5 separate regions of the Homo sapiens genome follow, and all the other regions are linked to region 5. The links are contacts of gene promoters, found by promoter capture Hi-C in human tissues and cell types (Jung and others, 2019). All regions are on one chromosome and are shown on one strand. The core of a region is centred on a gene start or on the middle of the fragment in contact, and the rest is flanking DNA. Distances in the headings are between cores, read along the strand shown. Region 1 has its middle 50 kb from the start of ZNF429. Region 2 overlaps LOC101929007 (a long non-coding RNA gene). Region 3 overlaps ZNF714 (zinc finger protein 714). Region 4 overlaps ZNF714 (zinc finger protein 714). Region 5 holds the start of ZNF708 (zinc finger protein 708).

Region 1 (5,547 bases), core at 2,718-5,217, 220 kb before region 5:
ATGATTTATTTTTTATTGCTGGCAATTTATTATTATTAACTTCTCCAAATTAAAAATAAAAACTGATTTACATTTGAGAGTCTATTGTTTATTATATGAAGCTTTTCATGTCTTCAGAAATAATTATCAATTCTTTTTCCAAGGATTAACAATTAACAGGTAGTTGTAACAACATTGCTGTGTTTATATCTCTTCAGATTATTAGATGCGAATAAGTTTTTATAAACAGAATTCTCTGAGGTAGAATTTCTCATATTTTGCAGCCCACAAATCAACATATCCCAAGATAGCTGTGAATTTGGGAACTGCAAGAACTGAGTTCAGATTTGTTCACCCTGGAAATTACAGAGGCAACTTCGCTACCCTTTAACCTTCTGTTGAAGGGCCACTGAGAAGCTGTTAATTTCAACCTGCAAGAGTTTTACCATTTTAGGGTTAGCACTGAAAATAAGAAAAAGGCAATTTTCTTATATTCACCCTATGTAATTAAGTGATAGTAATAGTTACCAAAACAAAGCAAAATGTGAATGGTGACTATTCAGACCATCTGCTCTATCTTCTCTGGATTCCCTGAAGTTTCTAGATTTCTTTTTGAATTCAATAGTATTATGATGTTAATTCTGTGCTTTTGCAATCTACAATATGAGTTCCAGCCAGGAGGTAGAGTTGAAGTTTTTTGTTTGTTTGTTTGTTTTTAATTTGTTTGTTTGTTTGTTTGAGATGGGGTCTCACTCTGTCACCAGGCTGGAGTGCAGTTGTGTGATCTTGGCTCACTGCAACTTCTACCTCCTAAGTTCAAGTGATTCTCCTGCCTCAGCCTCCCGAGTAGCTGGGACTACAGGCTCCCGCCACCATGCCCGGCTAATTTTTTGCATTTTTGTAGAGACGGGGTTTCATCATGTTAGCCAGGATGGTCTCAATCTCCTGACCTCATGATCCACCCGCCTAGGCCTCCCAAAGTGCTGGGATTACAGGCATGAGCTACCGCGCCAGGCCTAGAGTTGAAGTTTTTTGAACTAATCACTGTTGGTAAAGCCTTTCCCTCCTGCACAATTTTTAAAGGTAGATTTGGCCAGGCATGGTGGCTCATGCATGTAATCCCAGCAATTTGGGAGGCTGAGGCAGGTGGATCACTTGAGATCAGGAGTTCAAGACCAGCCTGGTCAACATGGTGAAACCCCGTCTCTACTAAAAATATAAAAAGTACTTGGGTGTGGTGGCAGACGCTTTTAATCCCAGCTACTTGGGAGGCTGATGCAAGAGGATCCCTTGAACCCGGGAGGCAGAGGTTGCAGTGAGCTGAGATCATGCCACTGCACTCCAGCCTGGGTGACACAGCGAGACTACACCTCAAAAAAAAAAAAAAAAAAAGGTAGTTTTGATCAGTGATTAGTGCTGCCCTGCCAGAAATGTGCAGTTTAAAGACAAGTAAACGAATTGGCTAAAAGCATAACTACTAAGTAGTGAGGTCACAGCAGGATCACTGCTGATTCCATTTTCTCCCTTCGGATATTTTCAAGCCTTCATACTCTGTTTCAATGTAACATTAAGAGCATATAACCCGAAGAACAATTCATTTTTCAGCTGTTTCTAGAAGTTATACTTCATTATTGGAGCAGGGGAAAGCAATTTGAAAAGTGTTATTAATTAGCCAATTTAATCTAAATTTTGCCAGAAACTCTTTAAATTCCAAATATAGGGTCCACTTGCTATGCAAATTTAGATCGTTGTTCTTATTATAATTTAGGCAAAGATGTACAAAAAAAAGATAGCAGCTATTTGGATGAAATAAAAATAAAAGATGATTTGGGGGACAGGGTCAAGAGGGCCAAATAAACATTTCCAGTCTGCAGCTCCCAGCGAGACCCATGCAGAAGACAGGTGATTTCTGCATTTCCAACTGAGGTACCCAGTTCATCCAACTGGGACTGGTTAGGCAGTGGGTACAACCCATGGAGGGCGAGCAGAAGCAGGGTGGGGCATCGCTTCACCCACGAAGTGCAAGGAGCTGGGGGACCTCCCTCCCCCAGCCAAGGGAAGCCGTGAGGAACTGTGCTACCCGGCCAGGTTACTATCCTTTCCCCATGATTTTTGCAATCTGCAGATCAGGGGATTCCCTGGTGTGCCTACACCAGCACAGCCCTGGGTTTCAAGCACAAAACTGGGTGGCTATTTGGGCAGACACCAAGCTAGCTGCAGGAGTTTTGCTTTGTTGTTGTTGTTTGTTTGTTTTGTACCACAGTGGCATCTGGAACCCCAGCAAGACAGAACCCTTTACTCCCCTAGAAAGGGGCTGAAGCCAGGGAGCCACGTGGTCTCGCTCAGCAGGTCCCAATCCCATGAAGCTCAGCAAGCTAAGAACCACTGGCTTGAAATTCTCACTGACAGCACAGCAGTCTGAAGTTGAGTTGGGATGATCGAGCTTGGTGGGGGGAGGGGCATCCCCCATTACTGAGGCTTTAGTAGGCAGTTTTCTAGTGCTAAGGAGGCTGGGAGGATTTGTGGGCTGCCAAAATATGGCCAGACTGCTTCTCTAGATTCCTCCTCGCTGGGCAGGGCATCTCGGATGGAAAGGAGACAGCCCCAGTCAGGGGCTTACAGACAAAATCCCCATCTCCCTGGGACAGAGCACCTGGGGGAAGGGGTTGCTGTGGGCACAGCTTCCATAGATTTAATCCTTCCTGACTGCTGGCTCTGAAGAGAGCAGGTGACCCTGACAAGAGGGATTCTCCCAGCACAGCACGTCAGCTCTGCTAAGGGACAGACTGCCTCCTCACGTTGGTCCCTGACCCCTGTGCCTCCTGACTGGGAGAGACTTCCCAACAGGGGTCGATAGAAACCTCATACAGGAGAGCTCCGGTTGGCATCAGGCTGGTGCCCCTCTGTGATGAAGCTTCCAGAGGAAGGAGCAGGAAGCAATTTTTGCCATTCTACAGCCTCTATTTGTGATTCCCAGGTGAACAGGGTCTGGAGTGGACCTCTAGCAAGCTGCAACAGACCTGCGGAAGAGAGGCCTGTTAGAAGAAAAACTAACAAACAGAAAGCAACAACATCAACATCAACATAAAGGACCACCACACAAAAACCCCATCCAATGTCATCAGCCTCAAAGATCAAAGGTAGATAAGTCCATGAAGATGAGTAAAAACCAGTGCAAAAACACTGAAAATTCAAAAAATGAGAATGCCTCTTCTCCTTCAAATGATCACAACCCCTCTCCAGCAAGGGCACAAAACTGGATGGAGCAGGCTGGGTGCAGTGGCTTAAGCCTGTAATCCCAGAACTTTGGGAGGCCAAGGCTGAGGCAGGTGGATCACTTGAGGTCAGGAGTTCAAGACCAGCCTGACCAAGATGGTAAAACCCTGTCTCTACTAAAATACAAAAATTAGCTGGGTATGGTGGCAGGTGCCTGTAATCCCAGTTAATTGGGAGGCTGAGGCAGGAGAATTGCTTGAACCCAGGTGGCAGAGGATGCAGTAAGCCAAGACTGCACCACTGCAATCCAGCCTGGGCGACAGAGCGAGACTCTGTCTCAAAAAAACAAACAAACAAAAACTGGACGGAGAATGAGATTGACGAATTGACAGAAGTAGGCTTCAAAAGGTGGGTAATAACAAACTCCTCTGAGCTAAAGGAGCATGCTCTAACTCAATGCAAGGAAGCTAAGAACCTTGACAAAAGGTTAGAGGAATTGCTAACTAGAATAATCAGTTTAGACAGGAACATAAATGACCTGATGGAGCTGAAAAACACAGCATGAGAACTCTGCGAAGCATACACAAGTATCAATAGCCAAATCAATCACGCGAAAGAAAGGATATGAGACTGGAGATTAACTCAATAGAATAAGTCGTGAAGACAACATTAGAGAAAAAATAACAAAAAGGAATGAACAAAGCCTCCAAGAAAGATGGGAGTATGTAAAAAAACCAAACCTATGATTGATTGGTGTACCTGAAAGTGATGTGGATATTATCCAGAAGTTCCCCAACCTAGAAAGACAAGCCAACGTTCAAATTCAGGAAATAAAAAGAACACCACTAAGACACTCCTCGAGAAGAGCAACCCCAAGACACAAAATCATCAGATTCTCCAAGGTTGAAATGAAGGAAAAAATGTTAAGGGCAGCCAGAGAGAAAGGCCAGGTTACCTACAAAGGGAAGTCTATCAGACTAACAGCAGAACACTCTGTAGAAACACTAAAAGACAGAAGAGAGTAGGAGCCAATATTCAATATTCTTTTTTGTTTGTTTGAGACAGAGTTTTGATTATTGCTCAGGCTGGGGTGCAATGGCACGATCTTGGCTCACCATAACCTCCAACTCCTGGGTTCAAGCGATTCTCCTGCCTCAGCTTCACGAGTAGCTGAAATTACAGGTGCACGCCACCACGCCCGGTTTTTGGGCTCACGCCTGTAATCCCAGCACTTTGGGAGGCCAAGGAGGGTGGATCACCTGAGATTGGGAGTTCAAGACCAACCTGGCCAACATGGTGAAATCCTATCTCTACTAAAAATACAAAAATCAGCCAGGCATGGTGGCAGGCACCTATAATCCCACCTATTCTGGAGGCTGAGGCAGGATAATCACTTGAACCTGACAGGCAGGGGTTGCAGTGAGCCAAGATCATGCCACTGCACTCCAGCCTGGGCAACAGAGCGAGACTCCATCTCAAAAAAAAAAAAAAAAAAAAAAGCAAAAGAATTTTCAACCCAGAATTTCATATCCAGCCAAACTAAGCTTCGTATGCAAAGGAGAAAGAAAATCCTTTACAGACGAGCAAATGCTGAGGGATTTTGTCACCACCAGGCCTCCCTTAGAAGAGGTCCTGAAGGAAGCACTAAATATGGAAAGGAAAAACCAGTACCAGCCACTGCAAAAACACATCGAACTATAAAGTCCAATGACACTATGAAGAAACTGCATCAACTAATGTGCAATATAACCAGTTAGCATCATGATGACAGGATCAAATTCACGCATAACAATATTAATTTTATATGTAAATAGGCTAAATGCCCCAATTAAAAGACACAGACTGGCAAATTGGATAAAGGGTCAAGACTGTGCTGTATGCAGGAGACCTATCTCACATGCAGAGAGACACATAGGCTCAAAATAAAGGGATGGAGGAATATTTACTTACCAAGCAAACGGAAAGAAAAAAAAAAAAGCAGGGATTGCAGTCCTAGTCTCTGATAAAACAGACTTTAAACCAACAAAGATCAAAAAAGACAAAGAAGGGCATTACATAATGGTAAAGGGATCAATGCAACAAGAAGAGCTAACTATCCTTAATATATATGCAGCCAATACAGGAGCCCCCAGATTGATAAAACAAGTTCTTAGTAACTTACAAAGAAACTTAGATGCCCACACAATAATAGTGGGAGACTTTAACACCCCAGTGTCAATATTAGACAGATAACAAGACCGAAAATTAGCAAGGATATTCAGGACTTCAACTCAGCTCTGGACCAAACGAACCTAATAGACATCTCCAGAACTCTCCACCCCAAATCAACAGAATATACATTCTTCTCAGTGC
Region 2 (5,699 bases), core at 603-3,102, 240 kb before region 5:
AAACTGAAGAAAATAATGAAGGGTGGACAATGGGTTGGCCAGGGATGACCGAAGTAGAGAAGAATAGGTGAAACCAGAATGGCACAAGATTAGTAGTTGTTGAAGCTTCATGATAGGTCTATTAAATTATTTTTGTTGTTGTTGTTTTGCATATGTTTAATTTTTTGTAACAAAACACTTGAATAAAAACACAAAATTGATCTACAATGTTAACTCTTAAGATTATGGTTATTGTCTAGGTGCAATGGCTCACGCCTGTAATCCTACCACTTTGGGAGGCTGAGGCAAGAGGATCACAAGGTCAGGAGTACAAGACCAGCCTGGCCCAGATGATGAAACCTCATCTCTACTAAAAATACAAAAAAATTAGATGGGCGAGGTGGCACGTGCCTGTAATCCCAGCTATTTGGGAGGGTGAGGCAGAGAATTTCTTAAACCTGGGAGGTGGAGGTTGCAGTGAGTCGACATTGCGCCACTGCACTCCAGCCTGGGTGACAGAGCAAGACTCTGTCTCAAAAAAAAAAAAAAAAGGTTATGGTTATTGTTGGAGAAGAAAAAAGAAAGTAATTGTTGGAACATGGTTGAGGCTATTTTATGCATTGCATTGCGTTGCGTTGCGTTGCGTTGCGTTGCGTTGCATTGCATTTTAGAGACAGGGTCTCACTCTGTCAGCCAGGCTAGAATGCAGGGGTGTGATCTCAGCTCACTGCAACCTCCACCCCCGGGCTCAAGTAATCCTTCCACCTCAGCTCAAAAGTTTTAAATGTTATCATGCATGAGTCATCTCTAGAATGACAAATGGTCTCTCTTTAACTAGAATGACAACAATTGAGACATATGTGACTATGGAGACACCATAACCTATGAATGACATAATATGGACAAAACCCAAAAATAATGGAAATTGACAGTGGCACTAAGATCGTGAGTTTTTTACACTCTGATCTATGTGAGAACTTTGCCAAAATGGGAGAATTTTTTAAACAAATTTATCGGAGGCCATCATTCTTAACTTCTGCACTAGGTTCAAACAGAAAAACAAAACAAAAAAAGTAAGTCACTCATGCTAAATGTGACATAATCAAATTGAAAATTTCAGAAAATAGGTAGGGCTGGGCACAGTGGCTCATGCCTGTAATCCCAGCACTTTGGGAGGCTGAGGTGGGTGGATCACCTGACGCCTGGAGTTCAAGACCAACCTGACCAACATAGTGAAACCCCATCTCTACTAAAAATACAAAATTAGGCGGGCGTGGTGGCACATGCCTGTAATCCCAGCTACTTGGGAGGCTGAGACAGGAGGATTGCTTGAACTCGGGAGGTGGAGGTTGCAGTGAGCTGAGATGGCGCCATTGCACTCCAGCCTGGGCAACAATAGTGAAACTCAATCTCAAAAACAAAAAGAAAGAAAAAAGAAAATAGGTACATCCTAAAACAGATGAGGTTTGTTTGTCTGTTTGTTTTGGTAAACAGCACATTTCAACACAAGGAGTTTCCCTCTACTCTTTTAAAAATAAATAATAATAATAAAATAATAATAACCTGAAGTCCTTGTTTCTACTTTAAAAAATCCACAGTTATGCTATTTCACAGTGGGATTTCAGACTAAATAAGTACTTCTTTTATAGTGAGAGAGTAATATCAATATCCAAGTTTTTTTTTTTTTTTTAGATGGAGTCTCGCTCTGTTGCCCATGCTGGAGTGCAGTGTCGCGATCTCAGCCCACTGCAACCTCTTCCTCCCGGGTTCAAGAAATTCTCCTGCCTCAGTCTCCTGAGTAGCTGGGATTACAGGCACTCACCAACAGGCCTGGCTAATTGGTTTGTATTTTTAATAGAGACGGGGTTTCACCATGTTGGTCAAGCTGGTCTCAAACTCCTGACCTCAAGTGATCCACCCACCTCGGCCTTCCAAAATGCTAGGATAACAGCCATGAGCCATCACGCCCGGCCAATGTCTAAAGTTTTGGTCTATCTCTCAAAATTAAGATGACCAAAAGGACAAATTATTAAATTAATTACACCATAAAGCTGCCCCCTTTCACGTTTAATTTTGGTCGTTTTTATTTAAAATACTAAACTGAAACCTACCTGGATATGTAAATAGACTGTACCCATTCTTGTACCAATCAATGTGTTTTGGCCAGTAAAATGACGTCAACTGTTCAAACCATAAGGCAACTCCCAAGCTGTAATCAATCTGACTGTTTCGGTACCTGGCTTCCATTTTCCGCATGTCAATTTGCCTTTTCTGTTCATAAATTTTTTACCACCATGTGGCTATGCTGGAGACTCTCTGAGCCTACACAGGCTACCCAATTTGCAAATCATTCTTTTCTCAATTAAACTCTGATAAATTTAATTTCTCTAAAGTTTCTTTTTCTTTTTTCTATGATGAAAATAAATAATGTGTTCTTGGGCTTTGATTTTTCTAAACTCATTCCTCAGCTATTTTTCAAAATTATTATATGTCCATTCAAATGCTTCTGCAATTTTTTTGAGACAGTGTCTCTCTGTATCACTCTGGGTGGAGTGTAGTGGTGCAACCAATCATGTCTCACAGCAACCTTAACACTTCAGGCTCAACCAATCCTCCTGCCTCAGCCACCCGAAGAGCTGAGACGACAGACATGCAACATCATGACTGGCCAATTTTTAAATTTTTTTTCACGGACACAGGATCTTACTATGTTGCCCAGGTTGCACGTAAACTCCTGAACTCAAGTGATTCTTTCATCTCAGCCTCCCAAAATGCTAGGATTACAGGTGTGAGGCACCCTGTGCTTCTGCAATTTCTTGAAAGGATTATTCCCAATCATAAATAGTGCTATATGGGCATACATTTTTTAAAAATCTGGCTTTTACTGTAGCAGCATCTCTCTCCAGGATTTCAAGGATCTACAGCAGCCAAGAGTTTGATGCATGGGCTTTAGAGTCAGAAGAGTTGGTACTGAGTCTCAGGCCAGCCATTTAGTAGCTGTGAGTCTTTGGACAAGTTTCTTGATGCGAAAGAGTTGTATAAACCACATATGCAAAAAAGGCATAATGATATTGATTGCAAAAATGGTAGCAATTTTTCATCCCTCCTATCCATGCCTATTGGCAGGTGCTCTTACAGCTGTTCCCATTGAGATACAGAATCTGTTTTCCCAACCCTAGATCTGGCTGGCCTTATTTGTTCAAGGCACTAGATACTTGTGAACATGACAGTGGGCTAGTTTGGGGCCTGGGCTCAAATGGTGTTGAATGCTTCTGCTTTTCTTTCAGAATGCTGCTGTCTCCATCAATAAAGTCCATGTTAGCCACCTAGAGGATAAAATACCACGAGGAGGAGTAGCAAGGTGCCCCTGTTGACAGATCTTGAAGCACAAGCTCACTCCCAGAAGCACAGCTGCCTAGTCAACAAACAGCTGACAATACATGTCTGAAGGAGCTCAGCTGGGAACAGAAGAATGGCCCCACTGAGCCTAGCCTAAATGGCGGACCATCTCAATTATGAGCTAATAAGTTTTGGATGATTTGTTATGCTGCCATACCTAACTAATACATGCACCCAGTGCAGATTGGGTGTCAAGATTTAAAGACAGTTTGATTATTAGTCACCTTCTAACAATGGGCACCCTAAAGGTACTGACATTTTTCCCGATTTAAAGTTAAATGTCTTGTAAGGCAATGTTGACTGATGCAGGAATACTTGTAGACATGTATGCATGTGATTGGTGCTTATATGCACACAGTCCCCCACACCACAGGAAAAAACCGATGACCAGAGCCTGACCATTATGGCCAAGGCCAAATAGCCAAAGTTTGCCTTTAATCTATTTTCTTCATATCTAAAAATTGGAGGTCAATACTGTGGACAGGTCTGAAGACATAGAGTTTTGTTCTCCTGTGGCCCCATCATTCTTCAGTGGTCTACCTGTGGTTATTTTATTCTTGTTACCTTCTGCTCTTTCTATGACCACTATCTGTTCCACCCTTGAAACTGAAGACAGATGTTAGTAGAAAGAGGCTGTTCCCTCATGTCGGGCATGTGGGATACGATGAGGTTTCTCTTCAAATAGCCTGATCAATCTTTTATTCTTTAATTCATAGTACCCACACACACACCCCTTTTTTTCCTTTTTCTCCTTTTTCCTTTCTGCCTTTGTTAGATGCCCAGGCACGCCACAGTACCAGGCATTATCAGTACCAGCTCACATTTCTTCCCTTATTTGGAAAGAGGACTAACTTTCTAGCTCAATGCAGACACCCCTTCCCCTTCCTCTCTGCATTCTTTTGCATGCCCACCTTATCTAAAAAAATCAAATGTTTAGCCAACCAGGATTAGTTCAGATTGTACGACCCGACCCTGGCCAATGGGGAAAGGGTACAGGGGCAGGACTTGTGTCAGGAATAAAGGCTCTTGTGCCCCTTTGTTCAGGTGTGCTCTCATGGTGACTGGACAAGAACGCACCCCTCTGTGCAGAACTAAAATTGCTTTGCTAGGAATCCTTTGTTCGAGTGTTCAATTTCCTTATGATTTTGAGCGTTATTCCTAACAGGAAGAAAAGGGATATTCAGGCCTTTCACAGACCTGACAACAGAGCTGCACTTCAATGTGACAGGTATTGACCATGTGTGACTCCTGGGAGCCTGGAATGTGGCTGGTCTGAGCTGCAATTTGCAAGAAAGGTAAAATGCAGAGTTAGTTTCAAAGATTTAGTTCCATAAATATAAAAATATACAACATATAGATAAAAATATCTATATATAATATGGATAAAAATACATAGCATAATGCAATATATAGATACATAATTATGTTATATATAAATATATATCTCATTCATAATTATACATTGCTCACATATTAAAATAATATTTTGGATATATTGCTTTAATTAAATTGTTACAACAGACGGATGCAGTGTCTCACGCTTGTAATCTCAACACTTTGGGAGGCCGAGGTGGGCGTATCACGAGGTCAGGAGATCGAGCCATCCTGGCTAACACGGTGAAACGTGTCTCTACGAAAAATACAAAAAATTAGCCAGGCATGGTGGCAGGCGCCTGTAGTCCCAGCTACTTAGGGGACTGAAGCAGGAGAATGGCGTGAACTCGGGAGGCGGAGCTTTCAGTCAGCCGAGATCGCGTCACTGCACTCCAGCCTGGTCAACAGAGCGACTCCGTCTCAAAAAACAAAAACAAAGACAAAAAATCTCATGCTGCCTTCTCAAAGCCAGGAAGGTTATAAAACCTGAAATTTCAAAATCATTATTATTATATTCTTTTCATTTGTGAATAGCCATACAGTATAATATTTATAAATGCATATAACCTTATACACAAGATTACATGCAAACACCCTCTAGGGTGGGCCTGGCTCAGCTCAGGGACGAAGCCCTTTCTGAGCGGGCGGCAGCTTAGGCAGTCACTCTTTCTTCATTCAGCCTAGCGTTTGGTCACATCTTCTGTCAATCACGATGTGAGGAGGCGGGGATTTAAGCGTTATCCAATCAGCAACACTGGGCTGGAAACCCTCCAATCAGCCACGCAGCTGGAGCGGGCAAGACAGCTTCCGGAATATGGGGGCCTTTGTCTCCGGCTGCAGCTGGAGTTCTACGTCTAGTCTTCAGAGGCCCAGTCTCCGTGACTTTGTGACCTGCAGGTATTGGGAGATCCACAGCTAAGATGCCAGGACCCCCTGGAAGCCTAGAA
Region 3 (5,978 bases), core at 1,921-4,420, 210 kb after region 5:
ATGTATGTTTGCTACATTTATATATAAAAACATCCTCATGACTTATGAAGCCCCCCAGTACTTACCTGAACAAATTGACTCAATAAATAAATATACTTATGTCAATTATAAAAAGTGAAAGGAACAATCACTAAAGAAAAGAAAACTTATATATTGTTCTCCCCTTAAAAGAACAAAATGGAGTGCTCTCACTAAATAAAATGTAACTTAATACACTACTTTTGGAATTACATCTAAAAATTATTTTGTGTGCACTAAATTTCATAAAAATTCTTATAATCACAGACCAGCTCATATAATGAATACTTCCTAAACCATAAAACAAAAAAAATGTAAGAAACAAAAAAAGTATGGGTCTAGCATGAGTACCAGGCAAGTATATACAGAGAATTTGCATGAAAAGGTTCAGAACTGTAAGTCATGGATTGTACAGTAATAAATTCAATACAAAGCACAAAGTATACATTTGCTTTCAGCATTTTTTAAGGTTTTTAGTTTTATAGTAGCCACCTTATTAAAATGATTTTTATTCCCATATTGTTCTTTTCTGAAAATAGGTACAAACTCATACTCACACACACACACTTATTCCATAATTTTCTTACACCTAAAGTTTGTCTTTAGACTAATACATATTTAACTCTATGTGAATCAAAAAGTCTGCATGTTTGCAGGCAGACAGGCCACATGTTCAAAGAAAAATATATAACAATTTGGAAAAAATATTAATAGTTTAGAAATGAATTTTATTTATACTCATATATAATTTGTATTATGACCATAAAAATAACTCTATAGTAAATAACAATTGTACATTTTAAAATTTATAAAAAGTGGCCGGGCACGGTGGCTCATGCCTGTAATCCCAGCACTTTGGGAGGTCAAGGCAGGCAGATCATGAGGTCAGGAGATCGAGACCAGATCACGAGGTCAGGAGATTGAGACCATCCTGGCTAACATGGTGAAACCCCATCTCTACTAAAAATACAAAAAATTAGCCGGGCATGGTGGTGGGCGCCTGTAGTCCTAGCTGCTTGGGAGGCTGAGGCAGGAAAATGGCGTGAACCCGGGAAGTGGAGCTTGCAGTGAGCCGAGATTGCACACTCCAGCCTGGGCGACAGAGCGAGACTCCGTCTCAACAACAACAAGAACAACAACAACAAAAAATTTTTAAAAAGTGTAGGTTTGGATTGTTTGTAAAACAAAGGAGAAATGCTATGGGTGAAGGATGCCTCACTTAACCCTGATGCTACTATTATATATTGTATTCCTGTACTAAAATATGCCATATAAGTGCATAAATATATACTCATATTATGTACCCACCAAAATTAAATTTAAATGATTAAAAACAAAATAAAAATTTAACCTACAGAAACAATATTCTTTAACTTATTTGCGGTTTAAAGCCACTGGCAAAAAAAATTACTAGAGATGTTAATCCATTATGTTACTAAATAGTATATCGTTACCATCTTTTACCTATACCCTTCAGTAAGGTGGAACAGGGTAAAGTTTGTGGTATAATAATGCTTCATTGAATGCACAATAGTATTTAACATGTTAAAAATGTTAAACTATTAACTTCACACAATCTAAAATTTTAAAAATGTACTGCATCTTATATAAAAGTACAATTAGTATGATAAACTAAATTTTAAATAAAATTAAATGTTTTTTCATAATGCAGAATATTACTCTGAACACCAACCTCATGCACCACTCAATATTATAAGTTAACCCCAAAGAACCTCTCCACTTACATTTTCATTATGCATCTTACATTCTAATGTTTTTACTTTTCAATAGAAAAGATCACAAATAATGCCCACCTAATAAAAAAGAATCTCTTGCCAGGAGCAGTGGCTCATGCCTGTGTAATCCCAGCACCTTTGGAGGCCAAGGTGGGTGGATCACAAGGTGAGGAGTTTGAGACCAGCCTGGCCAACATGATGAAATCCTGTCTGTACTAGAAACATAAAAATTAGCTGGGCGTGGTGATATGCGCCTGTAATCCCAGCTACTCAGGAGGCTGAGGGAGGAGAATCGCTTGAAACTGGAAATTGAAGGTTGCAGTGAGCCGAGATCATGCCACTGTGCTCCAGCCTGGACGAAAGAGCAAAACTCCATCTCAAAAAAACAGAACAAAACAAAGAAAGAATCTTTCATATCTTTGATACAGCAATAATTGATCCCATGCTTTCACATGTGAATCCAATAGGAATGAAGAAACGGCAGGAATTTCAGAGTTGAATGACATCATTATTCACTTTTCAAAAAATCTGTAATATTTTTCAAGAAATAAAGTATACTTTGAATGTAATTATAACTGCAAAAAACCTTCTGATCCTCTTAAAGTTATATACAAATAATTTTTCTACCAACTTTAATTTTCTATACTCAGCCCTCTGATTTAGTATATCTGATGTTGTCAGTGCCTTATGTATTTCTACCATAAATTCTGATATTTACACAGACTTACTTATGGATTAAATTTTTTTTAACTTTTACTGCATCTGCAAAAATATATTCTAGTATGAACTCTGTTTTCTAAGCTGTAGTTTTTGAAAAAGTGTTTTTCCAAATTTACTACATTTGCATGATTTTTCTTCAATATAAATTCCCTGATATTGAACAAAGTGTGAAAGTGCTTCAGAGTTTTTCCTCTACAAAAAATGTCTACAATAAGATCTGTGATACAAGTAAAGGCACTACTACCCACTTTATATTTGTAACATTCATCTTCAAAATAAATATTCTTCACTGTAAAGTTCATATTTTCTTTTTTTTTTACTTTTTAGATGGAGTCTTGCTCTGTGGCCCAGGCTAGAGTGCAATCTCAGCTCACTGCAACCTCTCCCTCCCCAAGTTCAAGTGATTCTCCTGCCTCAGCCTCTTGAGTAGCTGGGATTACAGGCACCACCACCGCAACCGGCTAATTGTTGTATTTTTAGTAGAGATGGGGTTTCACCATCTTGGATAGGCTGGTCTCAAACTCCTGACCTCATGATCCACCTGCCTTGGCCTACCAAAGTGCTGGGATTATAGGCCTGAGCCACCACGCCTGGTCAAAAGCTTGTATTTTCTGAAAGGTCTTTTGACAGTAATTGTACTTATAATGCTTTTATTAAGTATGAACTATCTGGTGTTGAGATATGAACATATATTAATGGCTTTTTCAGTCTTTATATTTGTATAATTTATCTCAAGTACAAATGCTTTCCTGTGCAATAAGGTGTGAGCACTGGTTAAGTTTTGCCACATTGTTCACACATGTAGGTGTTTTCTCCAGTATGAATTATCTTACCTACAATCAAGTGTGACAACCATTTAAAGGCTTTGTCTCATTCTTCAGATTTCTAAGATTTCTCACCAGTATAATTTCTTTTATGGTTAGAAAAGTTTGAGGTGTTGTCAAAAGCATTGCCAGATCTTTCTGGTTTGCAGAGTTTCTTTCCAGTATGAATTATGTTATGTCTGTTAAGAATTGAGGGCTTGTTAAAGGCTTTGCCATGTTTTTCACCCTCGTAGGGTTTCTGTACAGTATGAATTTTTAATGCCTAGTAAGAGTTGAAGACTGGTTAAAGGCTTTGCCATATTCTTCACATTTGTAGAATTTCTCTCCAGTATAAATTATTTTCTTAAAAAGGTTCGAGGACTGGTTGAAAGCACTGGCACATTCTTCACAATTGTAGGGTTTCGTTCCAGTATGAATTTTCTTTTCTTTTTTTTTTTTTTTTTGAGACAGAGTCTTGCCTTGTGGCCCAGGCTGGAGTAGAATGGCGCGATCTTGGCTCACTGCAACCTCTGCCTCCCAGGTTCAAATGATTCTCCTGCCTCTGCCTCCCAAGTAGCTGGGATTACAGGCGCCTGCCACCACACCCAGCAAATTTTTGTATTTTTAGTAGAGATGGGGTTTTACCATGTTGGCCAGGCTGGTCTTGAACTCCTGACCTCGCGATCTGCTCACCTAGTCCTCTCAAAGTGTTGGGATTACAGGCATGAGCCACCATGCCCTGCTGAATTTTCCTATGTTTAGTAAGAGTTGAGGATTGGTTAAAGGCTTTACCACATTCTTCACATTTGTAAGATTTCTCTCCAGTATGAATTATGTTATGTTTAGTAAGGTTTGAGGATCGGTTGAAAGCTTTGCCACATTCTTCACATTTGTAGGGTTTCTCTCCAGTGTGAATTCTCTTATGTGTAGTAAGGTTTGAGGATCGGTTAAAAGCTTTGCCACATTCTTCACATTTGTAGAGTTTCTCTCCAGTATGAATTATCTTATGTTTGGTAAGGTTTGAGGATTGGTTAAAAGCTTTGCCACATTCTTCACATTTGTAAGGTTTCTCTCCAGTATGAATTATCTTATGTATAGTAAGTTTTGAGGAGTGGTTAAAGGCTTTGCCACATTCTTCACATTTGTAGGGTTTCTCTCCAGTATGAATCATCTTATGTGTAGTAAGGTGTGAAGACACATTAAAGGCTTTGCCACATTCTTCACATTTGTAGGGTTTCTCTCCAGTATGAATTCTTTTATGTTTTGTAAGGGTTGAAGACCAGTTAAAGCCTTTGCCACATTGTTCACATTTGTAAGATTTCTCTCCAGAATGAATTATCTTATGTTTAGTAAGGTATGAGAATCGGTTAAAAGCTTTGTCACATTCTTCACATTTGTAGGGTTTTTCTTTAACATGAATGAACTTATGTGTAGTAAGGGCTGAAGGGTGGTTAAAAGCTTTACCACATTCTTCACATTTGAAGGGCTTCTCTCCAGTATGAATTACCTTATGTGTAGTAAGGTGTGAAGAATGGTAGAAGGCTTTGCCACATTCTTCACATCTGTAGGGTTTCTCTCCAGTATGAATCATCTTATGTGTAGTAAGGGTTGAGGAGTGCTTAAAAGCTTTGCCACATTCTTCACATTTGAAGGGTTTCTCTCCAGTATGAACTCTCTTGTGTCTAGTAAGGGTTGAGAACCGCTTAAACACTTTGTCACATTCTTCACATTGGTAAGAATTCTCTCTAATATGAATTCTTTTATGTTGATGTAGGTGTAAAAGCATGCAAAATGATTCATCACATTTTTTACATTTGAAAGGTTTCTCTCCAGTATGTCTTGTCTTGTGTCTATTTGAATTGAAAATTTTATGAAAGACTTTTATATATTTATCACATGGAAATATTTTGCTCTGGGTAGTTGTCAAACACTGGTTTAGTTCATTATAACCTTTTTTGTACACCTTACACTCAACCACATTTGCGGAGCCTTTTCTTAACTGTAAATTCTCATGTTCACATTTGCCATGTCTTCTCAGTATCACTTGTTGAAAAGAATCTTTTATGTCTTGCTCTGGCCAAAGGTCTCTGGTAAAAGAAGAACACATAGCTGAAAGAAATACAAACAACAAATTATTCAACTTACTAGACTCTGATAAACATACTTTACAAATCTAACCTATATTATACAAACTACATAAGCAAGATGCCATAATAAAATACCACAGGCCCTAAATCCTTCATAGACATATAAATGTAATAAAAGCATACTGACCAAAATACATAAGGAAAACTTATAAATAAGCATGTAAAGTTCCCCAGGTGAGTACACAGATGAGTACACAGGAATGCAAAGACACAGAAGAAAAAGAAAAGTCCATTACCTTTGCCCAACACAGTTCTTCCTACTCAACAATATAACATACTGCCTTTCAAAGTAAATTGCTAACTTTTGGTTTCTTTTTTAATAAACAAGTAAAATACTGGCACATACATCTATATTACTTGCTTCTAGGGGCCTTTCCAGAAACTGGTCTCCCGTAACATAAAGTGCTGAAAAAAATGGTGGTATATTTTGGAGTTATAGTTTGGGTCTTGAGACCAAAGGTAATTGTTACAGCAGCAGAGAGACTGCAGTACAACAGACAGAAAACAGAGCAAATGGTTACTGATTAAGATGAAGCAGAAATAAACTCCTTTAA
Region 4 (5,975 bases), core at 1,560-4,059, 230 kb after region 5:
ACTCATTTATACAAAGCATAAATTACCAAAGAAAATTCTACAAAAAAAGAGACATAAAACGTTTAGGGTATATTAAGACTTATGTATTAAAGTTATTCTCACCCAAGAAGACCAGGTTTTTGTAGTTCTCTAACATCACATTCATATATAAATTCTGCTGAGCAGGGTTCAGGCATTCCCACTCCTCCAGAGAGAATTCTATGGCCACATCCCTAAATGTCAACGTCTCCTGAAAAACACATACGCACAGACACACGTATATTTACCAAGTGGCCATGGGCAGAATTTATTATTTGAATTAAGGTGAAATGAGAGAGTAAAGAGAATTGGTTGACTTATAAGAATAACTGAAATTATCCAATAATTTTTAACACAGAAATATTCTCTAATGTATTACTCTGAGGGCAGAGAATGGCATAAGATCCACAACACCAGTGCATATATAATACTTTTCTGGATGATAAAGAATATAATTAAGGACACAAACGTATACATTTTTGAGTGCTATATTTACATCATAATGAGTTGTGTATATTTTTCAGACAAAAAAAGACATGTTGAGTTAGATGGTACCTCTCAAATTTAAATATGTACAATAAACTGGAGATCCTGTTGTGAAGCTTTTTTTTTTTTTCCCCAGAAGATCTGGAATAAAGTCTGAGTTTTTAAAATTCTAACAAGGTTACTAGCAATGCCAATGTTTTTGACCCCAGAAGACTATTTTGTCAGACATTCAGTAAGTGAAAGAGATTGTGTTTTTCCCAACTTTTTTGGTCTGTAAACAAAGATAAGAGCCTTCATTTTCCAAAGACACATATGTGCAAAAAACAAACAAAAAAACCTAAGAAAAAAGGGCAGGTGCCAGATTAAATGTGATAGTTTATTAGCTACATAAAGATACTTAACAATAAAGAGAAAAACAATTAACTCTATAGTGAAAAAAAGTCAGAGAGCTCTTTAACCAAGCAAATTATTAACATCAACAACACTAGAATAAATTTTTATGATGTGCTGATGCACAAAGAAGAACACAACATCACTGCTGAGATATTGCCCCTCAAAAAGTCAATTATAGACTGAATTTAACCATAAAGAAAAAATCAGTTTCATGCGAAGGTCAAGATATCTCCCATGTTCTATAATTTTTAGTAATGATTTTAAGTAGTCCTTTCTTTAGCATCCTAGAAAGCAGGTATCTCTGAATAATTTTCTCCAGAACTTCCTGGGTAATAAATGCTATCCTGAACAGGCCGGGCGTGGTGGCTCACACCTGTAATCCCAGCACTTTGGGAGGCTGAGGCAGGCGGATCATGATGTCAGGAGATCAAGACCATCCTGGCTAACACAGTGAAACCCCGTCTCTATTAAAAATACAAAAAATTAGCCGGGTGTGGTGGTGGGCGCCTGTAGTCCCAGCTACTTGGGAGGTTGAAGCAGGAGAAAAGCATGAACCCAGGAGGCGGAGCTTGCAGTGAGCTGAGATTGCGCCACTGCACTCTAGCCTGGGCAACAGAGCGAGACTCTGTCTCAAACAATAAAAATAAATAAATAAATAAATAAATGCCATCCTGTTTAAATAAGCATATTCTTAATCCTGTTCTGCATAGAGCTAATGGAGAACACAAGCGACACCTCAACATTATATGTTCTCCATCTTTACTAAGGACCCCAGCTTTCCCCCAATAGGAATCTTGAGTATCCACATCTTCCCATGTTCAGCAGCCACAAAAGGAACACTTTTAATATGGCAGATCATAAATTCATGGTAGGAATTCTGCATTGCATATAAGAAGCCATGATGTAGAGAAGGCTCTCGTACATAGGATAGAAATATTTTTTAGAGATCCTTGACTATCACAAGAATTTTTAAAAGTATGTGAAACAAAATCATTGGGGAGGGAAAACAGAAGTAGAGAAGTAAAGGTTTGCAAGTACTAAACTCATGGCACTCCAGGAGGCAGAGTGGACACAGCTCTTGATCTGAGATATGTTTAGCTGAAAAGAAGCATTTTTCCTCTTTCTCCTCCTCTAGAAATCCTTTTCAGATAAAATTCTCTGGACAAGTAACACCTGCATCTTGAGACAAGTCCCTTAAAGGCATCAGCACCACCTGCTTACCTACTAGCCTCACACTCACAGACAGAAGGACCAAGACCAAAAAGTCCACTCATCTTTCTCCTTTATAACAGAAGAGATTCAGGAACAATGAGTTGCTCCACGGAAATAAAAATATATGTTCCTCTTTTACCGTCCACAGGTGCCCTCCCCTGCCACAGACACCAACAATTTCTACTACAGTAATGAAAATATGAAAATATGGGCCACTGCCCTGTCCCTACCAAACCCAAACAGAACAGGTCCTGAAGCCACCCTTTAGTGCAAATGTGGCACTTAACTCTCAGGAATGTATCTTGAAGCCTTCATACTTGATTCTGGCCTCACCATAGAGTCATATGAGGCCCTGGAGTTTCACTGTCTTACCACACGTATCTACATGTATCATGATGAAGATACCAAAAGCAACTGCAACAAAAGCAAAAATTGACAAATGGGACCTCTTGGGGTGATCAGACCCAACATCAGGTCGTGGGGGTGACAAAGTCCGGTGGAGTCAAAGGATTGAGAAAAAAGACAGTTTGAGATATAAAGGTGGGACACCAGGCTAGGCGCGGTGGCTCACGCCTGTAATCCCAGCACTTTGGGAGGCTGAGGCGGGCGGATCATGAGGTCAGGAGATCGAGACCACAGTGAAGCCCCATCTCTACTAAAAATACAAAAAAAAAATTAGCTGGGTGTCGTGGCGGGCGCCTGTAGTCCCAGCTACTCGGGAGGCTGAGGCAGGAGAATGGCGTGAACCCGGGACACGGAGCTTGCAGTGAGCTGAGATCACACCACTGCACTCCAGCCTGGGTGACAGAGCGAGACTCTGTCTCAAAAAAAAAATAAAAGATGGAACACCAGGGGGCCATCACCATTATGGAGGCTGTGAAGGCCCTGAGCTCTGGGAGCCCACGGTATTTACTGATAATCCAACAAAGAAACAGGTGGTGAGAACGTGGAGGTCAAAAGAGCAGGCGCATGATCTACAGCTGTGATGGTTTAGCATTATAAGGAACATGTTCTGCTACTTGAGATAATGGGAATAGGAACCTAGGAAAGCTAGAAGCAAGGAGCCAGCAGGTCTAGACACATTCCAGAGGACATTATGCAAGGCCTGCCTCAGTTTCCCTCCCAACACCCAGCTTTTTCCCAACAGGGACCTAATTAAAGAGCTTCTTCATAGCAAAGGAAACTATCAATGGAGTAAACAGACAACATACCAAATAAACAAAAATATTTGCAAACTATGTTCCTGACAAAGGTTTAATACCCAGAATTCATAAAGAAGTTAGGCAGGTTTACAGAAAAAAAAACTTCATTAAAAAGTAGGCAAAAAAACATGAACAGATGCTTTTCAAAAGAAGACAAACATGTGGCTAACAAGCATGTGCAAAAAATGCTCACCACTAATCACTACAGAAATGCCAAAAACAAACTAACAAAAACCACAATGAGACACCATCTCACACCATTCAGAATGGCTGTTGTTAGAAAGTAACAGGCTGGGTGCGGTAACCCCAGCACTTTGGGAGGTCAAGGCAGGCAGATCACTTGAGGTCATGAGTTTGAGAGCAGCCTGGCCAATATGGAGAAATCCTATCTTTACTAAAAATACAAAAATTAGTCAGGCTTGGTGGCACACATCTGTAGTTCCAGCTACTCCAGAAACTAAGGCATGAGAATCTATTGAATCAAGGAGGTGGAGGTTGCAATGAGCTGAGATCACACCACTGTACTCCAGCCTGGGTGACAGAGTGAGACTGTCTCAAAAACCAAAGTCAGTAACATGCTGGTAAGGTTGCAGAGAAAATGGAATGTTTATACACTGCTGGTGGGAGGGTAAATTAGTTCAACCATTGTGAAAAGCAGTGTGGTGATTCCTCACAGAACTGAAAACAGAATTACTGTTTGACCCAGCAACCTCCAAATTGAGTATATATCCAAAGAAATATAAACTATTCTACCATAAAGACACATGCATATGCATGTTTATTACAACACTGTTTGCAATAACAAAGACATGGGCTGGGCTCAGTGGCTCATGCCAGTAATCCCAGCACTTTGGGAGGCTGAGGCTGGTGGATCACCTGAGGTCAGGAGTTCGAGGCTAGCCTAGCCAATATGGCAAAACACCATCTCTACTAAAAATACAAAATTTAGCCAGGTGTGGTTACATGTGCCTGTAGTCCCAGCTACATAGGAAACTGAGGCAGGAGAATCGTTTGAACCCAGGAGACAGAGGTTGCAGTGAGCTGAGATGGTGCCACTGCACTCTGGTCTGGGCAACAGAGTGAGACTCCGTCTCAAACAAACAAAAAACAAAAACATGGAACAAATCTAATTGCCTATTAATGTAGACTAGATTAAAATAATAAGGTATGGTCAGGTGAGGTGGTTCACACTTGTAATCCCGGCACTTTGGGAGGCCGAGGCAGGTGGATTACCTTAGCTCAACAGTTCAAGACCAGCCTGGGCAACATGACAAAACCCCATCTCTACAAACGATAGAAAAAGAAGTTAACTGGGTATGGTGGTGCATGCTTGTAGTCCCAGTTACTTAGGGGGCTGAAGAGGGTGCCTTGAGCCTGGAAGGTTGAGGCTGAAGTGAGCCAAGATTGCACCACTGCACTTCAGCCTTTGCAACAGAGTGAAACACTGTCTCCAAATAAAATTAATTAATTAAATAAAATAGAAGATTTAATAAAAACAAAGTATGGTATGTAAACATGATGGAAGATTATGTGGCCAATAAAAAAACAAAAAAACAAAAACAAAAAAAAACAAGCTGGGCGTGGTGGCTCAGCCTGTAATCCCAGCATTTTGGGAGGCTGAGGCGGGCGGATCACCTGCGGTCAGGAGTTTGAGACCAGCCTGGGCAACATGGTGAAACCCCATCTCTACTAAAAATATAAAATTAGCCATGAGTGGTGGCGCATGCCTGTAATCCCAGCTACTCGGGAGGCTGAGGCAAGAAAATTGCTTGAACCCAGGAGGCGGAGGTTGTGGTGAGCTGAGGTGGCGCCATCACACTCCAGCCTGGGCAACAAGAGTGAAAACTCCATCTCAAAAAATAAATAAATTAAACAAAAACAAGATTAAGTTATTTGCAAGGCCAGGTATGGTGGCTCACGCCTGTAATCCCAGCACTTTGGGAGGCCGAGGCAGGTGGATCACAAGGTCAGGAGATTGAGATCATCCTGGCTAACACTAAAAATTCTCTACTAAAAATACAAAAAATTAGCTAGGCGTGGTGGCAGACACCTGTAGTCCCAGCTACTCGGGAGGCTGAGGCAGGAGAATGGCATGAACCCGGGAGGCGGAGCTTGCAGTGAGCCGAGATCGCACCACTGCACTCCAGCCTGGCTGACAGAGCGAGACTCTGTCTCAAAAAAAAAAAAAAAAAAAAAGTTTAAGTTATTTGCAGCAACATAGACGACACTGGAGACCATTATCCTTAGGAACCTAAAACAGAAACAGAAAACCAAATGCATGTTCTCATTGATAAGAGCTAAATAATAAGAACACATGGACACAAAGAGGAGAACGACAGACACTGAGGCCTAGTTGAGAATAGACAATGAAAGAACAAAAGAAACAGAAAATGTACCTGTTTGGTGTTATGCTTAGTACCTCAGTGACAAAATAATCTACACCAAAACCCCATGACACAATTTTACGTATATAACAAAGCTGCACATGGATCCCTGAACCAAAAAGAAAAGTTGAAAGAAAAAAAAAATCCATGCGTGGGGAAGAATGCAATGTAAGTGGACGGAGTTTTTGTTTTACAGATAGTGGCCCAGGTGGGGCTGGACTCTGATTTATTTCTGTGCCCATGCAGTTAAATGAGATTAGGAACAGGAGGCCCAGAACTC
Region 5 (6,082 bases), core at 359-2,858:
ACCACTGTCTGTTCTACCCTCAGAACCGAAGAGAGATGTTGGTAGGGAGAGGCTCTCTCCTCACCTCCGGCAGAAAAGGGATGTTCAGGTCGTTCACCCTCCTGATGTCAGAGCTGCACTTCAATGTAGCAGCTATTGGCCCTGTGTTGCTACTGGCTGCCTGGAATGCGCCTGGTCTGAACTGCGATGTGCTAGAAAGGTAAAATACGAGTTAGTTTCAAAGGTTTAGTTCCATATATATAGACACACTTCATTAATAATTACATATTTCTCACATATTAAAATGACAATATTTTCGATATATTGGGTTAAATTGTTACAATCAATTTCACCTGTTCTTTGTTTCTTTTTAAAAATAGAGCTAAACTCTTTTTAAAGTTTGGCTACAAATTAGCCGGGCATGGTGGCCAGCGCCTTTTATCTCAGCTACTTGGGAGGCTGAGGCAGGAGAATCGCTTGAACCCGGGAGGCAGAGGTTGCAGTGAGCAGAAATCGCGCCATTGCACTCCAGCCCAGGCAACAATGTGAGACTCCGTCTAAAAAAATAAAAATATAAAATAAAGTTTGGCTACTAGAAAATTTAAAATTTACATGTGGCTCACATTTTATGATTTTATTTTATTTATTTATTTTTTTTGAGACAGAGTTTCACTCTTGTTGTCCATACTGGAGTGCAGTGGCGTGATCTCGTCTCACTGCAACCTCCACCGCCCAGGATCAAGCGATTCTCCTGCCCCAGCCTCCCAAGTAGCTGGGATTACAGGCGCCTGCCACCATGCCCAGCTAATTTTTTTGTATTGTTTTAGAGACGGGGTTTCACCATGTTGGCCAGACTGATCTCGAACTCTGAACCTCAGATGATCCACCCTCTTCGGCCTCCCGAAGTACTGGGATTACAGGCGTGAGGTACAGCGCCCAACTTGTGGCTCACATTTTATTTCAGAGAATTGCCTCCTTTTTAAAATCTCAGGCTGCCTGCTCAAAGGACCAGAAGTCAGGAAGGTCACAAAATATAAAATTTTAGAACAGTTGGGCCGGGCGCAGTGGCTCATGCCTGTAATCCCAGCATTTTGGGAGGCCGAGGCGGGAGGATCACCTGAGGTCTGGAGTTTGAGACCAGCCTGACCAACATGGAGAAACCCCGTCTCTACTAAAAATACAAAAAAATTAGCCGGGCATGGTGGCGCATGCCTGTAATCTCAGCTACGCGGGAGGCTGAGGCAGGAGAATCGCTTGAACCCGCGAGGTGGAGGTTGCGATGAGCCAAGATCGCGCCATTGCACTCCAGCCTGGGCAACAAGAGTGAAACTCAATCTCAAAAAAAAAATTTTTTTTAGAACAATTGGGTTATTATATTCTTTTCATTTGTGAATAGCCATATAGCATATTATTTATAAGGGCATATGACCTTATACACAAGATTAAAGGCAAACACCCTCTCGGGTGGGCCTGGCTCAGCTCAGGGAGGAAGCCTTGCCTGAAAAGGCTGCAGCATAGGCTGTCACACTTCATTCAGCCCAGCATCTGATCACATCTTCCGTCCCTCAGGGCCTGAAGGGGCGGGTTTTAACATTATCCAATCAGGGACTCTGAGCTGGGGACAGTTCACTCAGACACGCAGCTGGACCGGACAGGGCGGCTTCCGGGTTTGGCGCGGCCTTTGTCTCTTGCTGCAGCCGGAGCTCCGGTCTCGTCTTCACTGCTGTTTGTCCTCTGCTCCTAGAGGCCCAGACTCTGTGGCTCTGTGACCTGCAGGTATTGGGAGATCCACAGCTAAGACTCCAGGACCCTCTGGAAGCCTAGAAATGGTGAGAGTGCCGTCCGACATCCCGAGAGAGGGGAAGGGCTGGTTGAAACCTGTGGGAAGTGGCTGTGGCGGGACTCAGGACTCCCCGCAGTCATCTCCACAATCTGCGCTCCGAGTTCTCCTTGCCTAGCTCGGCCTCAGTCCCCTTCAGCCATAAGATGGCGGCTGCGCCGACAGCCGGGCCCCCGGGCGTCCTGTCTCTTCCCTGCGCAGTGACTGTGCCCTGGCCTGCAGCCCTCTCTGGGCGGCTCTGCACCGGCAGCGCCGCGCCTCTCCCAGATTGTGCAGGGACCATGGGAGGGTGGTCAGGGGAGAATCCTGACTTGGGGTCGGGTTCATGAATGGGAAGAGCTTTGGTCTGTGGGGTTCCCGGTTCCTATTTTCTCCTATTAAAAATCTGTGGCAGTCATCGCAAAAAATATTAAAGAATTTAATCAAAGAGTGATTCAATAATTGTAGAGCACAAAAGTATGTTTTGTAGTTTGTGGTTCATGGGAGGAGCTTGAAGGAAAGACTTTTTATAAGGTGCATGATGAAGAAAACTATATTTAATAATCGGTTAGGTACATTTACGTAGCTGTTGCTGTTAAGTAGAAAGCCGGGGACTAGAGCCTCCTCAGTGTAATTGCCTGCCACTTAATTATTCTCACACTCCACAGGGGACTGATTTTCCCCTGCATTTTTCACATGCGTTCCAAGCGGGGTCTCAAGTGTACCTCCCAGCCCCATTCCTCCAGCCTAACTCTGGCCTGCAGTTAGATTTAAACTGCAAATAAACTAAAATACTAAATTTCTAGTTCCTTCTGACATTTCCAAATGCCAGCTTGCCTTTCCTAATTCACATTCTCAACTGTTTTTCCTTTAGTGTACATTTTTGATACTGTATTTTAGTTAATCATTTTTTGACAAAGCATTGGATGGCACTTAAAATTGTTTTCTGGTTGAAAATATTTCTCATGAGAAGAAAGCAAAAAATAATTCCCTGACACTGTATTTTATGAAATTTCTATGGCTTTTTTTTTTTTATCTTCCTCAGGCACAGAAATCTTATCAGAATGTTTGTTTTCAGGTGAAGGTTTTTCTTTGGAAACTTTACGGAGTGATGTGTCTTCAGCCACCCTTCAGTTTTTTCCTGGTCCTGGGTTTCAGTACTGTCTGGAGTAAACCAAGATACACATCATGACTTTTTCTGCTAGAGTGTCTAGTGAATATCAGCTCCTGGGTCATTTTTCTCCCTGAGGACAACCTGAGGTATGGAGTGTAGCTTCTCAAGGGAGCAGGTGGATGCCCTGGGGCTGAGAGGCATCTCCTGGCATACTCTTCCTTTGAAAAGCTAACCCCTTGAGACATTAAGATTGTCTTCACCCAACCCAGCTTCCATTTCTTGGAGACACAGTGCTGGTCAGCCAATCAGATGCTGGTATTGAGGGGAAAACACAGAAATAATTTCTGCCCCCTGAATTCTCTAAATTTTGTGGAAAAAAAAAAGTATCCCAAAAGACAAAGAAAAACCTGACCCAAGTGAGATGGTGCAAGAACTTACAAAGTAAAATGCACCTGGGGCATAGTGTAATGTCTCCTGAGAGGGTGGTTATTGAGCACTTAAGGTGAGCAGAATGGGGTGGGTGAATATCAGTCAGACACATCTGTTTTCTTTCTTTTCTTTTTTTTTTTTTTTGAGGTGGAGTTTCACTCTTGTTGCCCAGGCTGGAGTGCAATGGCACGATCTCGGGTCACCGCAACCTCCGCCTCCCAGGTTCAAGCGATTCTCCTGCCTCAGCCACCCGAGTAGCTGGGATTACAGGCATGTGCCACCACACCCAGCTAATGTTTTTGTATTTTTAGTAGAGATGGGGTTTCTCCATGTTGGTCAGGCTGGTCTCAAACTCCAGACCTCAGGTGATCCGCCCGCCTCGGCCTCCCAAAGTGCTGGGAATACAGGCGTGAGCCACCGCGCCCGGTCTAGACACATCTGTTTTCTAATTAGCACTACCACTCCCTGGGTTTGTCACCTTGAAAAGATTTGTTCACTTATGTTGACTTCCATTATTTAACTGTAAATTGCATTTTATTAATAGGACTTGGAAGGTAAGAAAATATTAACAGAGGGCATAAAAGAGGTGGATTTCAGAAAAAATTAATATTAATCATGTATTTTATTTGTGAGAAATTCTCATTTAAGTTTTCCTTTCTTAGAGTAAGTTTAGGAATTTTCTCAGATGTATTTTTTGTGAATATATATATAATCAAATATATATGTATTTATATTTATATTTAATATGGACTCTTGCTCTTGTTGCCCAGGCTGGAGTGCAATGGCACAATCTTGGCTCACTGCAACCTCTGCCTCCCGGGTTCAAGCAATTCTTCTGCCTCAGCCTCCCGGGTAGCTAGAATTACAGGTGGGCGTGCCACCATGCCCAGCTAATTTTTGTATTTTTTGTAGAGAACGGGGTTTCTCCATGTTGGCCAGGCTGGTCTCAAATTCCTGATCTCAAGTGATCCACCCGCCATGGCCTCCCAAAGTGTTGGGATTATAGGCATGAGCCACCGCGCCCAGCCTATTTTATGAGATTTTGGTGCACCCATCACCAGAGCATTATACACTGCACCAAATTTGTAGTCTTTTATCCCTCGTCCCCCTTCCACTCTTCCCCTCAAATCCCCAAAGTCCATTGTATCATTCTTATGCCTTTGCATCCTTATAGCTTAGCTCCCACATAACAGAACATACCATGTTTGGTTTTCAACTCCTGAGATACTTTGCTTAGAATAATAGTCTCTAGTCTCATCCAGGTTACTGCAAATGCTGTTAATTCATTTTTTATGGCTGTGTAGTATTCCATTGTATATATATACCACAGTTTCTTTATCCATTCATTGATTGATGAGGATTTGGGTTGGTTCCATGATTTTGCTATTGTGAAATGTGCCACTATGAACATGCGTGTGCAAGTATATTTTTCGAATAATGACTTCTTTTCCTCTGGGTAGATACCCAATTGTGGGATTGCTGGATCAAATGGTAATCCTACTTTTAGTTCTTTAAGGAATCTCCACAGTGTTTTCCATAGTGGCTTTTCTAGTTTACATTCCCACCAGCAATGTAGAAGTGTTCCCTGTTCACCACGTCCATGCCAACATCTACTGTTTCTTGATTTTTTGATCATGGCCATTCTTGCAGGAGTAAGGTGGTATCGCATTGTGGTTTTGATTTGCATTTCCCTGATCATTAGTGATGTTGAGGATTTTTTCATATGTTTGTTGGCCATTTGTATACCTTCTTTTGAGAATTGTTTATTCATATCCTTAGTCCACTTTTTGATGGGATTGTTTGTTTTGTACTGATTTGTTTGGGTTTGTTGTAGACTCTAGATATTAGTCCTTTGTCAGACGTATAGATTGTGAAGATTTTTTCTCACTCTATGTGTTGTCTGTTTACTCTGCTGACTGTTCTTTTTGCCGTGTAAAAACTATTTAATTTAATTAGGTCCCTGATATTTATCTTTGTTTTTATTGCATTTGCTTTTGAGTTCTTGGTCATGAAATCCTTGCCTAATCTAATGTCTAGAAGGGTTTTTCCAATGTTATGTTTTATAATTTTTATAGTTTCCGATCTTAGGTTTAAGTCCTTAATCCATCTTGAGTTGATTTTTGTATAAGATGAGAGATGAGGATCCAGTTTCATTCTCCTACATATGGCTAGCCAATTATCCCAGTACCATTTGTAGAAAAGGGTGTCCTTTCCCCACTTTATGTTTTTGTTTGCTTTGCTGAAGATCAGTTGGCTGTAAGTATTTGGGTTTATTTCTGGGTTCTCTATTCTGTTCCATTGGTCTATGTGCCTATTTTTAAACCAGTAACATGCTGTTTTGGTGACTATGGCCTTATAGTGTAGTTTGAAATCAGGTAATGTTATGCCTCCAGATTTGTTCTTTTTGCTTAGCCTTGTTTTGGCTACGCAGGCTCTTTTTTGTTCCACATGAATTTTAGAATTTTTTTTAATTCTGTGAAGAATTATGGTGGTATTTTGATAAGGATTGCACTGAATTTGTAGATTGCTTTTGGCAGTATGGTCATTTTCACAATATTGATTCTACTTATCCATGAGCGTGGGATTTGTTTCCATTTGTTTGTGCCATCTATGATTTCTTTCATCAGTGTCAGGTGTATTTTTTATGGCTTGGTAATTTCCAATAAAATTTCAAGGCTGTTTAAGAATGCTACCAAGAAAAAGAATAGGGGAAATGTCTTTCCCATTTTGGCTGTAGAAAA

The links. The method cuts DNA at HindIII sites, captures the fragments that hold promoters and counts their contacts. A contact is called where the count stands out against the background at its distance.
Region 1: a fragment that was not itself captured here is called in contact with the fragment with the promoter of ZNF708 in region 5 in 1 of the 25 tissues and cell types used here (pancreas).
Region 2: a contact is called between a fragment that was not itself captured here and the fragment with the promoter of ZNF708 in region 5, in 1 of the 25 tissues and cell types used here (aorta).
Region 3: a contact is called between a fragment that was not itself captured here and the fragment with the promoter of ZNF708 in region 5, in 1 of the 25 tissues and cell types used here (spleen).
Region 4: a contact is called between a fragment that was not itself captured here and the fragment with the promoter of ZNF708 in region 5, in 1 of the 25 tissues and cell types used here (IMR-90 fibroblasts).

The regions. Positions count from the first base shown.
Region 1 is chr19:21,552,362-21,557,908 of GRCh38, reverse strand. No RefSeq gene overlaps it. Among named protein-coding and RNA genes, the nearest start is that of ZNF429, 50 kb to the right of the region's middle. The HindIII fragment of the contact is 4,940 bases long and covers 1,498-5,547 here.
Region 2 is chr19:21,569,107-21,574,805 of GRCh38, reverse strand. LOC101929007 (a long non-coding RNA gene) reads left to right here. Exons shown (of 4, transcript XR_007067176.1): 4 at 3,267-4,904. It overlaps LOC124904670 (a long non-coding RNA gene), which reads left to right and starts at 5,550. Exons shown (of 2, transcript XR_007067182.1): 1 at 5,550-5,699. The HindIII fragment of the contact is 3,893 bases long and covers 1-3,798 here.
Region 3 is chr19:21,116,215-21,122,192 of GRCh38, reverse strand. ZNF714 (zinc finger protein 714) reads right to left here. Exons shown (of 5, transcript NM_182515.4): 5 at 1-5,386. The coding sequence ends at 3,861. Among named protein-coding and RNA genes, the nearest start is that of ZNF431, 23 kb to the left of the region's middle. The HindIII fragment of the contact is 5,159 bases long and covers 591-5,749 here.
Region 4 is chr19:21,092,439-21,098,413 of GRCh38, reverse strand. ZNF714 (zinc finger protein 714) reads right to left here. Exons shown (of 5, transcript NM_182515.4): 3 at 103-229. The coding sequence starts at 145. Among named protein-coding and RNA genes, the nearest start is that of ZNF714, 13 kb to the right of the region's middle. The HindIII fragment of the contact is 7,827 bases long and covers 1-5,975 here.
Region 5 is chr19:21,324,936-21,331,017 of GRCh38, reverse strand. ZNF708 (zinc finger protein 708) reads left to right here and starts at 1,608. Exons shown (of 4, transcript NM_021269.3): 1 at 1,608-1,808. The coding sequence starts at 1,806. RefSeq lists a silencer at 1,295-1,516 and enhancers at 763-1,751, 1,636-1,815, 1,856-2,055, 3,144-3,665. The HindIII fragment of the contact is 12,621 bases long and covers 1-6,082 here.